Regions from separate parts of the Homo sapiens genome. Here regions 2 and 3 are each linked to region 1. The links are contacts of gene promoters, found by promoter capture Hi-C in blood cells and fetal thymus (Javierre and others, 2016). All regions are on one chromosome and are shown on one strand. The core of a region is centred on a gene start or on the middle of the fragment in contact, and the rest is flanking DNA. Distances in the headings are between cores, read along the strand shown.

What was found. Contacts are between HindIII fragments. The CHiCAGO score rates a contact against its expected background, and 5 or more counts as called.
Region 2: a contact is called between the fragment with the promoter of BHLHA15 here and a fragment that was not itself captured in region 1, in 1 of 17 cell types (M2 macrophages). The highest score is 8.3, in M2 macrophages.
Region 3: the fragment with the promoter of LMTK2 here is called in contact with a fragment that was not itself captured in region 1 in 1 of 17 cell types (neutrophils); the score reaches 6.6 in neutrophils.

What each region holds. Positions count from the first base shown.
Region 1 is chr7:96,310,157-96,313,615 of GRCh38, forward strand. The region is part of intron 1 of SLC25A13 (solute carrier family 25 member 13); the gene reads right to left. Among named protein-coding and RNA genes, the nearest start is that of SLC25A13, 10 kb to the right of the region's middle. The HindIII fragment of the contact is 1,124 bases long and covers 1,238-2,361 here.
Region 2 is chr7:98,209,806-98,213,264 of GRCh38, forward strand. BHLHA15 (basic helix-loop-helix family member a15) reads left to right here and starts at 1,634. Exons shown (of 2, transcript NM_177455.4): 1 at 1,634-1,693; 2 at 2,451-3,459. The coding sequence starts at 2,505. The coding sequence ends at 3,074. RefSeq lists a silencer at 1,506-1,695. The HindIII fragment of the contact is 21,052 bases long and covers 1-3,459 here.
Region 3 is chr7:98,105,108-98,108,566 of GRCh38, forward strand. LMTK2 (lemur tyrosine kinase 2) reads left to right here and starts at 1,755. Exons shown (of 14, transcript NM_014916.4): 1 at 1,755-2,173. The coding sequence starts at 2,071. The HindIII fragment of the contact is 4,003 bases long and covers 887-3,459 here.

The DNA of each region.
Region 1 (3,459 bases), core at 550-3,049:
ACTAATACAATATCTTTTAATATGGTCCCCATATTCCAGCTGTTTCGATTCTTTTCTTTATTTGTTTTTAACCCAGGCTCAAGCATTGTATTTGGTCATCAGGTCTCTTTGGGAGTTTCCTTTATTCCAGCCTTCTTCATTCATAACACTGACATTTTTGAAGTCAAGCCAGAGGTCTTGCAGCATGTCCTACTTTCTGGATTTGTCTGATTGTTTCCTCACGATTAGATCCAGATTAAATATTTTTGGCAAGAACATTTTTAGGTTCATGTTGTATACTTCCCAATGCATAATATCAGTCGGTAACATAATGCTAGTTTATCCCATTTGCTGATGATCACTTGGTTGAAGCAGATTTCTCCATTGTAAAGGTACTTTTTCCCCTCTGTAAACAGCAAGTAATTTACTAGGAGATGCATTCAGACAATGGGAATTCCAACAGTCTTTTACTGAAAGGCTTCAGCATCCAATGATGATCCATGCCTGAATCAATTATTACTTGCAGGTGGCAAAGTCAATTTTTTTTCCTTTTTCTAATTCTAGCATAGCTTCTACCTTTATTAGCTAGCATTCTTCAGTAAAGAAACTTTATCAGTCTATTCTCCAACTCACTTTGGCTCCTTTTAGGGAGCAATAATTATCACTCATTATGTTGTGTTGGATTTTTTTAATTCCATGTGTTACAATCCCTTTCCAATTGATTTGTCTTCATTGTGGTAAAATATACATACCATAAAGTTTACCATTGTAACCATTTTTAAGTATACAATTCAGTGGCATTAAGTACATTCACAATGTTCTACATCACCATTACCCATTTCATCATCCCAAACATAAACTCTAAACCCATTAATATCCAATTGAATTTTAATTGCCATTATTTTTTATAACAATGATATATACTCATATATAGACATACATACATACATAATATGCATACATACACACAAGAGTGTGTATTTAAATAATGAAAATCACTTTTAACTCAATGTACCAGGAAGGGCAAATGTTAATATTTAAAGTTAGCTAATTAAAACCATTATGCAAAAAGCTGGTGGACTTAAGATAACAACATCTGAAACCACTGACCAAAACGTAACATCACAAGAAACAACCAAGAATTAGGTGCTTCCTCATGTGAGTACCCAGTACCAAGTACCCAGCAATGTGATGGGAAGCTCTAAGCACCATCTAGGAAGTATTCTAGCCAAAACCAAAAAAGACTCTAACTTGATCAAGCTTTTAGATTAAACTGTCACTTGCAGGAAATACTGAGGCCAAGCAACACCACAAAGACGTAATCAGCAAAGTCCAAATTGTGGGAAATTACAGGAAAGACGACCCAATTCCCTCATCAAATAAACTGCAAGGAAACAACCAAAAAGGGGGCAGGAAAACCTATAGATTAACAAGATTTAAAAGACGTATCAACCAGCCATGTGTGGACTATATCTGAATATTGATTAGAACAAACCAACTATAAAAACTGTAATCTTAGGACATGGGTTTTAGCATTCCTACAGGGACTTCAAGAAATGGGAAAATAGAACCACAACCCCTTCTGAAAACTGAAGAGAAGAACTCAGACAAATATATATATATCTGCCCACCAATACAGAGAAATGAAAAGAAGTATTTCTTTCTGACAAAGGCTAAAAAAAAAGAAACATTTCTGTCTCTGACTGACCTCTATGTTAAACAAACAAATAAACAGGCTCTCTTTTATCCTGCTACCCTGTTGCCATAGCTTTATGGCAAGAAATATGAACAGAGGTTGTTATGTCCCGTTCACAAACTGCTGTGAAGAATATGAAAATCGAATGAGTCTGGGGTAATACTGGGAAAGTACTAAATTAAAAGTATTGAAAATGCAGCCAAGACCAAGGAGATTTTAGCTGGCTAAAGAGTTTAAATTTTATTCTGCAGGCAACAGAAGCCACACTGCATAGCAAGATAAATTAAAGAGGGCAATGCAGCACACTGGTTATGTGCTTGGGCTCTGGAGCCAGGCTGCCTGTGTTGAAATCATAGCTCTCCTATTTACAAGCCATGTGATCTTGGGCAAGTTATGTAATCTCTCTGTACCTCAAAGAACTTAACTACTCTGTACAAATGAGTTTCTCGATGTATATTATGAAGGTGAGAGCACTTACATGTCATAGGATTGTTATGAAGATTGCATTAGTAGATATAAAGTGCTTGGAACAGTGTCCGGCTTTTACAAGTGTTATATAAACATATGCTAATATTATTATTATTATTTGCATAACCTTTTTGAGCCTTAGGTTTCTTTATCTGACAAATGAGGTTATCAACACGTTCCCTGCTACCTTGTAGATGATTATAAAGATCAAATAATGAAGCTTGGGTCTTTATATTATCTGGTTATATTAATCCCTGAAGACTTTGAGCTTCTTGAAAACAAATCTAGTAGCTTACCTGTTTTTGGAATCCCAGCACAGTGTAGGCACTGACAAACAGTCGTCGTCACTTATGCCCTTGAATGCACTTTTTAAAGCTGCTAAGTACTGTACCCATGAACACGGTAGTGCTATTATCATGGCAACAAGAGCCAATCTTAGAAAAGTCCTTTGGCAGTCTGGACAGAATGGAGAGGAAGGTGTAGGGATGAGATCAAAAGCAAGGGGATCAGTGGGAGCTACAGCAATGGTACAGCTACAAAATAAAGAGGCCCTGAATTTGAACAGAGAAGATAGGACATACATGCTCCATGGCCGTAGAAGGGTTTCACTGATCCACCTCTTTTGCCACATCCAATTCAGGCTGATGGTGTCTCTCCTATCTGCCCATAACAGGTACTTAATTGAACTAACTAGAAACTTTATCAGGAAAGTGAAGCTGCAGGATGAAGTCAGGAATGACCAAAAAGATGGATTCAGTTATAAGAACTGGTGAGTTCTAGGTCAGCAGAGTTTGAAATATCTTTGAGACAGACAAGTTGAGTCTTCCAGCTCAAACTAAACAGCTAAAAGTGCAGGGCTAGAGCTTGAGACAGCCACCCAGGCTGAGGAGTGTTAAGGAGCCAATACCCATTAAGGGGGCAGGTAGTGCGGCAGGAACTGGAGGGAGGAGACAATCTCAGGCACAGCCTTGGGGGACACTAACCTTCCAGGTGTCCAGGCAGAATGAAGAGAAGCCCACAAGGCACAGCACTATTCACAGTAGCAAAGACAGGAAACCAACCTAGGTGCCCATCAATGGTGAATTGCATAAAGAAAATGTGGTATATATCCACCGTGGAATACCTTGCAGATATAAAAAGAACAAAATCATGTCCTTTGCAACAACATGGATGCAGCTGGAGGCTATGATCCTAAGTGAATTAATGCAGGAACAGAAAACCAAATATCACATGTTCTCACTTATAAGTGGGAGCTAAACAATGGGTACTCATGGACATAAAGATGGCAACAATAGACACTGGGGACTACTAGAGGG
Region 2 (3,459 bases), core at 384-2,883, 1.9 Mb after region 1:
GCTTTGTATAACCACTGGAAAACCAAACCTGTTTAGTGTTCCTGCCACCTTGAAGCATGTCTATAAACCATGCCTTTGCACTCATGAATTTCGGAAGCATTTTCATTTCCAAGGACCTCATTTGGCCCAGCCTCAAATGAGCTTTAGGCCAAGAGAAGAACTAACTAACCTTGGCTCCAAGCTAGCCTTTCTGTGCCCGCCCCCCGCCCCACTATGGCCCCTCTGAGTTCCCACCCAGAGGTACTGAGACAGAGCGGCGAGACCCATGAGTGTGGAGCCCAGGCCTGCCAGCCAGCGTGACACTCACCGCACCCCCAGCAGCGTGCAGTCACCGCACCCCTAGCAGCCCCGAATAGTCCCTGAGCAAGATGCTGCTTTGGCTGGGCGTGGTGGCTCACGCATGTAATCCCAGCACTTTGGGATGCCGAGGCGGGTGGATCACTTGAGGTCAGGAGTTGAAGACCAGCCTGGCCAACGTGGAGAAACCCCGTCTCTACTAAAAATACAAAAATTAGCTGGGCGTGGTGGTGCATGCCTGTAATCCCAGCTACTCGGGAGGCTGAGGCAGGAGAATCGCTTGAACCCGGGAGGCGGAGGTTGCGGTGAGCCGAGATCATCTCGCTCCATTGCACGCCAGCCTGGGCAGCAAGAGCGAAACTCCGTCTCAAAAACAAACAAACAAACAAAACAGGCGTTCCCAAGGACTGCACACCTGCCCAAGGAGCCCCCCACCCCCACCCCAACTCGGGCTCCGCCCCCAGCCCGTAGGAGCCCCAGGTTCCCCTAAACATCCCGGGCGGCGGGGCGGGGGATCCCCTGGGAGATGCCCGCGTTTTCGCGGAGCGGCTCGTCCCGGAGTGCTCCTGGGACTTGGGATCTGTGTGCTGAGCCTGAATCGGGGCTGCCCCTCCTTCCGGCGGCTCCCAGAGACCTGTTTCCCATTGGCGGAATGGGCCCGGGCCCCGCCACGAGTGGAGAGGCCGGGCAAGGAGGATCGCGGGAGGCATGGATGCGGGGGTGCTGTGTCAGGGGGAGGGTCGGGGAAAGCGGGCGGGGGGAGGCTGTCTCGGGCACGGATATGGGGTAGGCGGGTGGGAAAGGCGCGAGTGGAAATTGAGGGGGAGGATGGGGAAAAGCAGGTTGTGGGGAGGCTGTCGGGGGACGGGAGTAGGGGAGGTGGGGACGCAGGCTGTCTTGGGGGGGCTGTAGCGGGAGAATGGGGAGAGACGAATGGGGGGAAGCTATCTCGGGGCGGTTGGGGGGCTGTCGGGGGAGGATGGGGAGAAGCGTGTGGGGGAGGCTGTCTGGGGGAACGAGGGTCGGGGGCTGTCGGGGGATGGTGGGGAGAGGCGGGCGGGGGTGGCTGTCTTGGGGGACGAGGGTGGGGGGCAGTAGGGGGAGGATGGGGAGAGGCGGGCGGGGGAGGTTTTCTATCTTGGGGGCGGGGCGGAAGCTGGGGGCGGGGCTGCGCGGCCACCTGGTCCGGGAGCCCCAGGCGCCGGCCTCCCGCCCGCCCGCCCGCAGGTGCCGCCACTGCTGCCCAGCGCCCGCCGGGACACCCGGACCCCGGCCCCGCCCCGGCCCCGCCCCGAGGGCTCATTTGCATGCGTCCGCGGCCCCTCCCGGGGCGGCTAAAGCGACGTGTCCTTGTCCCCCGTGGGCAGCCTCGGCGCGTGTGGCCGCGGATCCCCAGGTAACCCGGGAGCTGGGAACTCGGGTGGGGCCGCGGGGAGGGGACCCAGGGGCAGGACCTGGCGGTGGGGTTGTGGGGGTTGTGGGGGCTGTGGGGAAACCCGGGTGGGGGACTTCTGGTCTGTCTGGAGGCTCCACGGGGCCCATCCACGTGGTGGGATTGGGGGCTGCCGCCAGGCCCTGGCCATTGCCGACCTCTGACCTCCACGGCTGCCCCATGTCCGCAGCGGTTCTGGCCCCAGTGCTGTCCCATGTCCGCAGCGGTTCTGGCCCCAGTGCTGTCCCTGCACGTGTCACGTCCAGCGGGGCAGGACAGTGAGAGCCTGGTGGCTGGAGTCACTGCCCGCCCACGGGATGAAGTCAGTGCCGCCTCCGGCAGAGGCGCCCCCTAAGCTAGGGTGGGGGACGCATTCTAGGCAAAGTGTCAAAGGTCACCGAGCTCAGGAGGCACTCTGGGGGCAGTGAGGGGCATGAGCCAGAGGAAGATCTAGGGGTCAGGATGAGTCATCCTGGGGGAAGGGGGACGCAGGGACAGGGACAGATTCCAGAGGTCTGTTTGAGGTAAAGCAAGGGCGTGGGTGTGTGTGGGGTCAGCCCAGGGCTAAGCGTGTGAACAGAAGGACCTCCAGTCGCAGAGCGCCAACCCCTGCCCCTGGTACCATTGCTGTCAGCAAGGAGGAGGCTGCCAGGGACGGCACCCCAGCGGGTCCCCTGCCCATGTGGGGTGACCACAGAGTGTCCTGTGTTCTGGATTTCAGCTCCAAGGGCCTCACCTTCCTGCCGCCACCTCCTAGGACAGCCAGTCCAGGGCCATGAAGACCAAGAACCGGCCCCCACGGCGCCGGGCCCCGGTGCAGGACACAGAGGCCACCCCCGGGGAGGGGACGCCCGACGGGTCCCTGCCGAACCCGGGGCCAGAGCCGGCCAAGGGTCTGCGGAGCCGGCCGGCCCGGGCCGCAGCAAGGGCTCCGGGCGAGGGCAGGCGCAGGCGGCCAGGACCCTCCGGGCCCGGTGGCCGTCGTGACAGCAGCATCCAGCGGCGGCTGGAGAGCAACGAGAGGGAGCGGCAGCGGATGCACAAGCTAAATAACGCCTTCCAGGCCCTGCGTGAAGTCATCCCCCACGTGCGCGCGGACAAGAAGCTCTCCAAGATCGAGACGCTCACGCTGGCCAAGAACTACATCAAATCGCTGACGGCCACCATCCTGACCATGTCCAGCAGCCGCCTCCCAGGCCTGGAGGGGCCGGGCCCCAAGCTCTACCAGCACTACCAGCAGCAGCAGCAGGTGGCTGGGGGTGCGTTGGGGGCCACGGAGGCCCAGCCCCAGGGCCACCTGCAGAGGTACTCCACGCAGATCCACAGCTTCCGAGAGGGCACCTAGCGCCCAGTCCTGGGTGGGGGTGGCGGTGGCCGCAGCTGCCTGGCCTGCTCCTCCCAGCCCCAGTCCCTCCAAGCCACGAGCCCCAGATGGGCGGTGACACCCCACAAGGACACGGCCTCAGCGGTTCCATTTTCCCCCGAACATTCAGCCACTTCCCTGGAGCAATTTTTCCTGCCCCGCTGGGGACCAGCGAGTGGCCTAGTTGCGGCTGTGGCCCTGGACAGCGGCGTGAGGCCCAAACCTCTAGGTAGGGCCCAGTTGGATCCTGATTTTTCATTGAGCCAGGCAGTCTCAGCCCGAGTTGAAAGGCCTCCTTAGCCTTGGAACTAACGTCTCTTCACCCTGACTTCTGGGCAAGGGGAGATCCCAGGAAAAGGTTTACCTG
Region 3 (3,459 bases), core at 505-3,004, 1.8 Mb after region 1:
AGATCGAGACCATCCTGGCCAACATGGTGAAATCCTGTCTCTACTGAAAATACAAAAATTAGCCAGGTGTGGTGGCGGGCACCTGTAGTCCCAGCTACTCAGGAGGCTGAGGCAGGAGAATCGCTTGAACCCAGGAGGCAGAGGTTGCAGTGAGCTGAGATCGCACCACTGCATTCTAGCCTGGTGACAGAGACAGACTCTGTCTCAAAGAAAAAAAAAAAAGAAGTAGAAGTACAACAGGGTGATTGTGTCTCTTTCCTAGACCTTTGCCTTCCTTACCAATTCTGCATATAATCAGCAGAAAGCCGTGAACTTTTTTTTTTTTAAGACAGAGTCTCGCTGTGTCGCCCAGGCTGGAGTGCAGCGGTGTGATCTCAGCTCACCGCAACCTCCGCCTCCTGGGTTCGAGCAATTTTCCTGCCTCAGCCTCCCAAGCAGCTGGGATTACAGGCATGCGTCACCGTGTCTGGCTAATACTTTTTGTATTTTTAGTAGAGATGGGGTATGACCATGTTGGCCAGGCTGGTCTTGAACTCCTGGTCTGAAGTGATTCACCCACCTTGGCCTCCCAAAGTGCTGAGATTACAGGTGTGAGCCACCGTGCCCAGCCAAGCCATGGACTTTTAAATTCAATGTTTCTCGTTCCAGGTATTTGTCTCCTTAGATATTTATTGGCTTGCCTCAATCATCCAACAAATATTCCCTGGGCATCATCTGTGTGTCCAGTGCTGTGTTAACATCATCGACAGCTGGCATTTAGGATGGACATTTGGGGAGTTTGGAGAATTGGGGAGGTTACACTGTTGCCAGGTGGCAAAGTCTCATCTGATAAGATTGAAATCAGCTCCTCTCATGCACACACTGAACCATAGCGCCTCTCCAGAAAAGCTTAGCATTTTCCCAACCCCCATGCCTCTGACCACTATATTACTTGTGTCTGGAGAGTGCTTTCTCTATCCTCTCTGCAGGACTGTGTTCTCACCTCACCTCTTGGTGGGGAGAAGGCCACCCCTGGGAGCTGCTCTGCCCTGGTACCTGGGACCAGGGCCATGCACCATTGCTTTAGAGAACACCTGCTCCGACCCAGGTCCTGCACCAGGGATTTCCCACCAGCTGAATCAGACACAGTTGCTGTCCTCAGGGAGCTTACAGTCACGGGTCAATAGGATACTGCAGCTAGGATAGCAGTCCACACAGGGCCAGGGCGGGGCACTAAGGAGATGACAGTCATTTCTCCTAGAGAGTCATAGATGAAGTCATATGTCAGGTGAGTCTCGACAGATGAAAGGAAGAGTGTCTGCCAGGTGGACAAGAGGCAACAGCTTGAGCTCAGGAGGTGAGTCAGTGGGTGATGCCGAGAGAGGCATTCTCTTGATCAATTCAAGTGAAAAGCCCAAAGCTGTTTGATGGCTGAGAGGATGTGTAGGTCAACTTAAGGAGAAGAGCCTAAAACAGCTCTGACAAGTAAAAAAAAAAAAAAGGCAGAAGACAAGACAGGCCTATTTTTGCATGTTATAAAACACCGAGAAAAAAATATCAGGATGATTGTCATGGTCTTCTTTACATTTTCCTGTATTTTTCAATTTAAAATAATTGTTGGTGTTACCTGCTGCCCACGCACTCCTCCGTCTGCAGGGGGCGCACCGGCCGCCACCGCTCACTCCTTCAGGATGATGGGCGGGGCCTCCTGGGCCGGTGTGGACTGACGAGTGGCTGGCCGCCCTGTCCATCACGACATCCCGCCCCCGCGCTACGTCACATGACGCAGCCCATCATGGCGGCGGGAGCGCGGCTTCCCAGGCCCGCCGCTCCGCAGGGCTGCTGGCGTTGCTGCTGTTGAGAGGCGGCGGCGGCGGCGCAGGCGGGCGGGAAGGATGGTGTTTCTGCGACTGGAGCGGCAGGTGCGGACCGGGAGCCGGACCGAGGTTTGGCAGAAGCAACGTGTGCTCGGGAGCAACCGGCGCGGGTGCCACTGAGGCAGCGGAGGGAGGCAGGATCGACTGACGGGCGAACGGACGGACGGACGGAAGGCGACTCGAGGGCCGGCCCCGGAGCCGCGCCGTGGGCGAGATGCCGGGGCCGCCGGCGTTGCGGCGGAGGCTGCTGCTGCTGCTGCTGGTCCTCCTGATCGCCGGCAGTGCTGGGGCCGCGCCACTTCCGCAAACAGGTGCAGGTGAGCGGGCCCGCGGCGGGGACGGGGCTGCGGGGTCTTCGGCGTGGAGGGGAGGGGGCGGCAGGGCCGGGCCGGCCTCGGCGCCGAGGAATCGGAGGGCCTGCCGGGGGCGGGAAGCCCAGGGAGGCGAGTGATTAGGGAGATTTCTGCCGCAGGGGCGTGGGATTTGGGGGGGCGGGAGCGAGGCGACGTCGTTGGGGCTGGGGAGGGCGGCGGGCGAGGTAGCAGCCACCGACCCCTCCCGGGATAGGCTGCGGTGCCGGCCCTGGACCTGTTGCCTTAAGATCCTCAGCTTATATCGCTTCCTGGCAGTTCAGCTTCCCTTTCCAGATGTCACCTGCCTCTTGTGCTTTTTTTTCGCATCTCATAAGAACCGTTTCTTAGCCCTAATCATACTTAAATGCAAATGACTTGGCGAGCTGTGCGGAGTTTGTTTTCGCTCCTTGCAACTTATTCTGAAGTTGTAAATTGATTTTAGACGCTGTGCTTTTTATTCGGAATGTATCTCCGGGGATGAGAAGGAAACAACTATAAATATTTCTATTTTAGGAAGCCAGTGATTAGAGTAGCAGGCGTTGAATAACTATTGACAAACTGGCTTAAGGGTGATGGAAGTTTCTATTTTAGCTAACGTCAGTGTATGATTTTCTTTTCTCCCCCCCCGCCCATTTTCTCAACATCGTTTTTATTTGGGGTTTATTTTCCTAAATAAAACTTCAACCCAAGAAAACATCCCAAGTTGGGTCATTTTTCTAAAAAGGAAAAAAAAATCTAGGCTAACTTGGCGTTATTGACTGCCGCCATTACCTTTGAAATGGGGAAAGATTGAAATTTCATACATTCATAGAATGTTAGAGTTAGAAGAGACCTTAAAGAAAATTTAGACCAATTTCTTCTTTACGTAGTAGGAGATACTGGGCATGTTGGGTCAAATGACCTACCCAGGGTGACACAGCTTCGTTGTAGGCAGAGCCCCAAAGCCAGGTCTTAGATACCCCTAGTTGTATGATTTTTTTTAAGTCTTGTAACTGTTTTGGAATACTCTCGAGGTCAAGAGTTATTTTGGAATAATGTTAATTGGGTACAGAATGTGGATGTACTGTCTCCAGTAAAGACATATTTTTCAAACAAATCTACGATGAAAGCTACATGTAATTGCTTCCAGAGCTACATCAGGGTTTGTCATTGAGTGCCCTTTAGTTGAACGTTAAATGTCCTCATTGTACCGTATAATGTAGCACTAAATTTCTGTTACTGCCTTAGATCAAATACTTGTGAGGTGAATT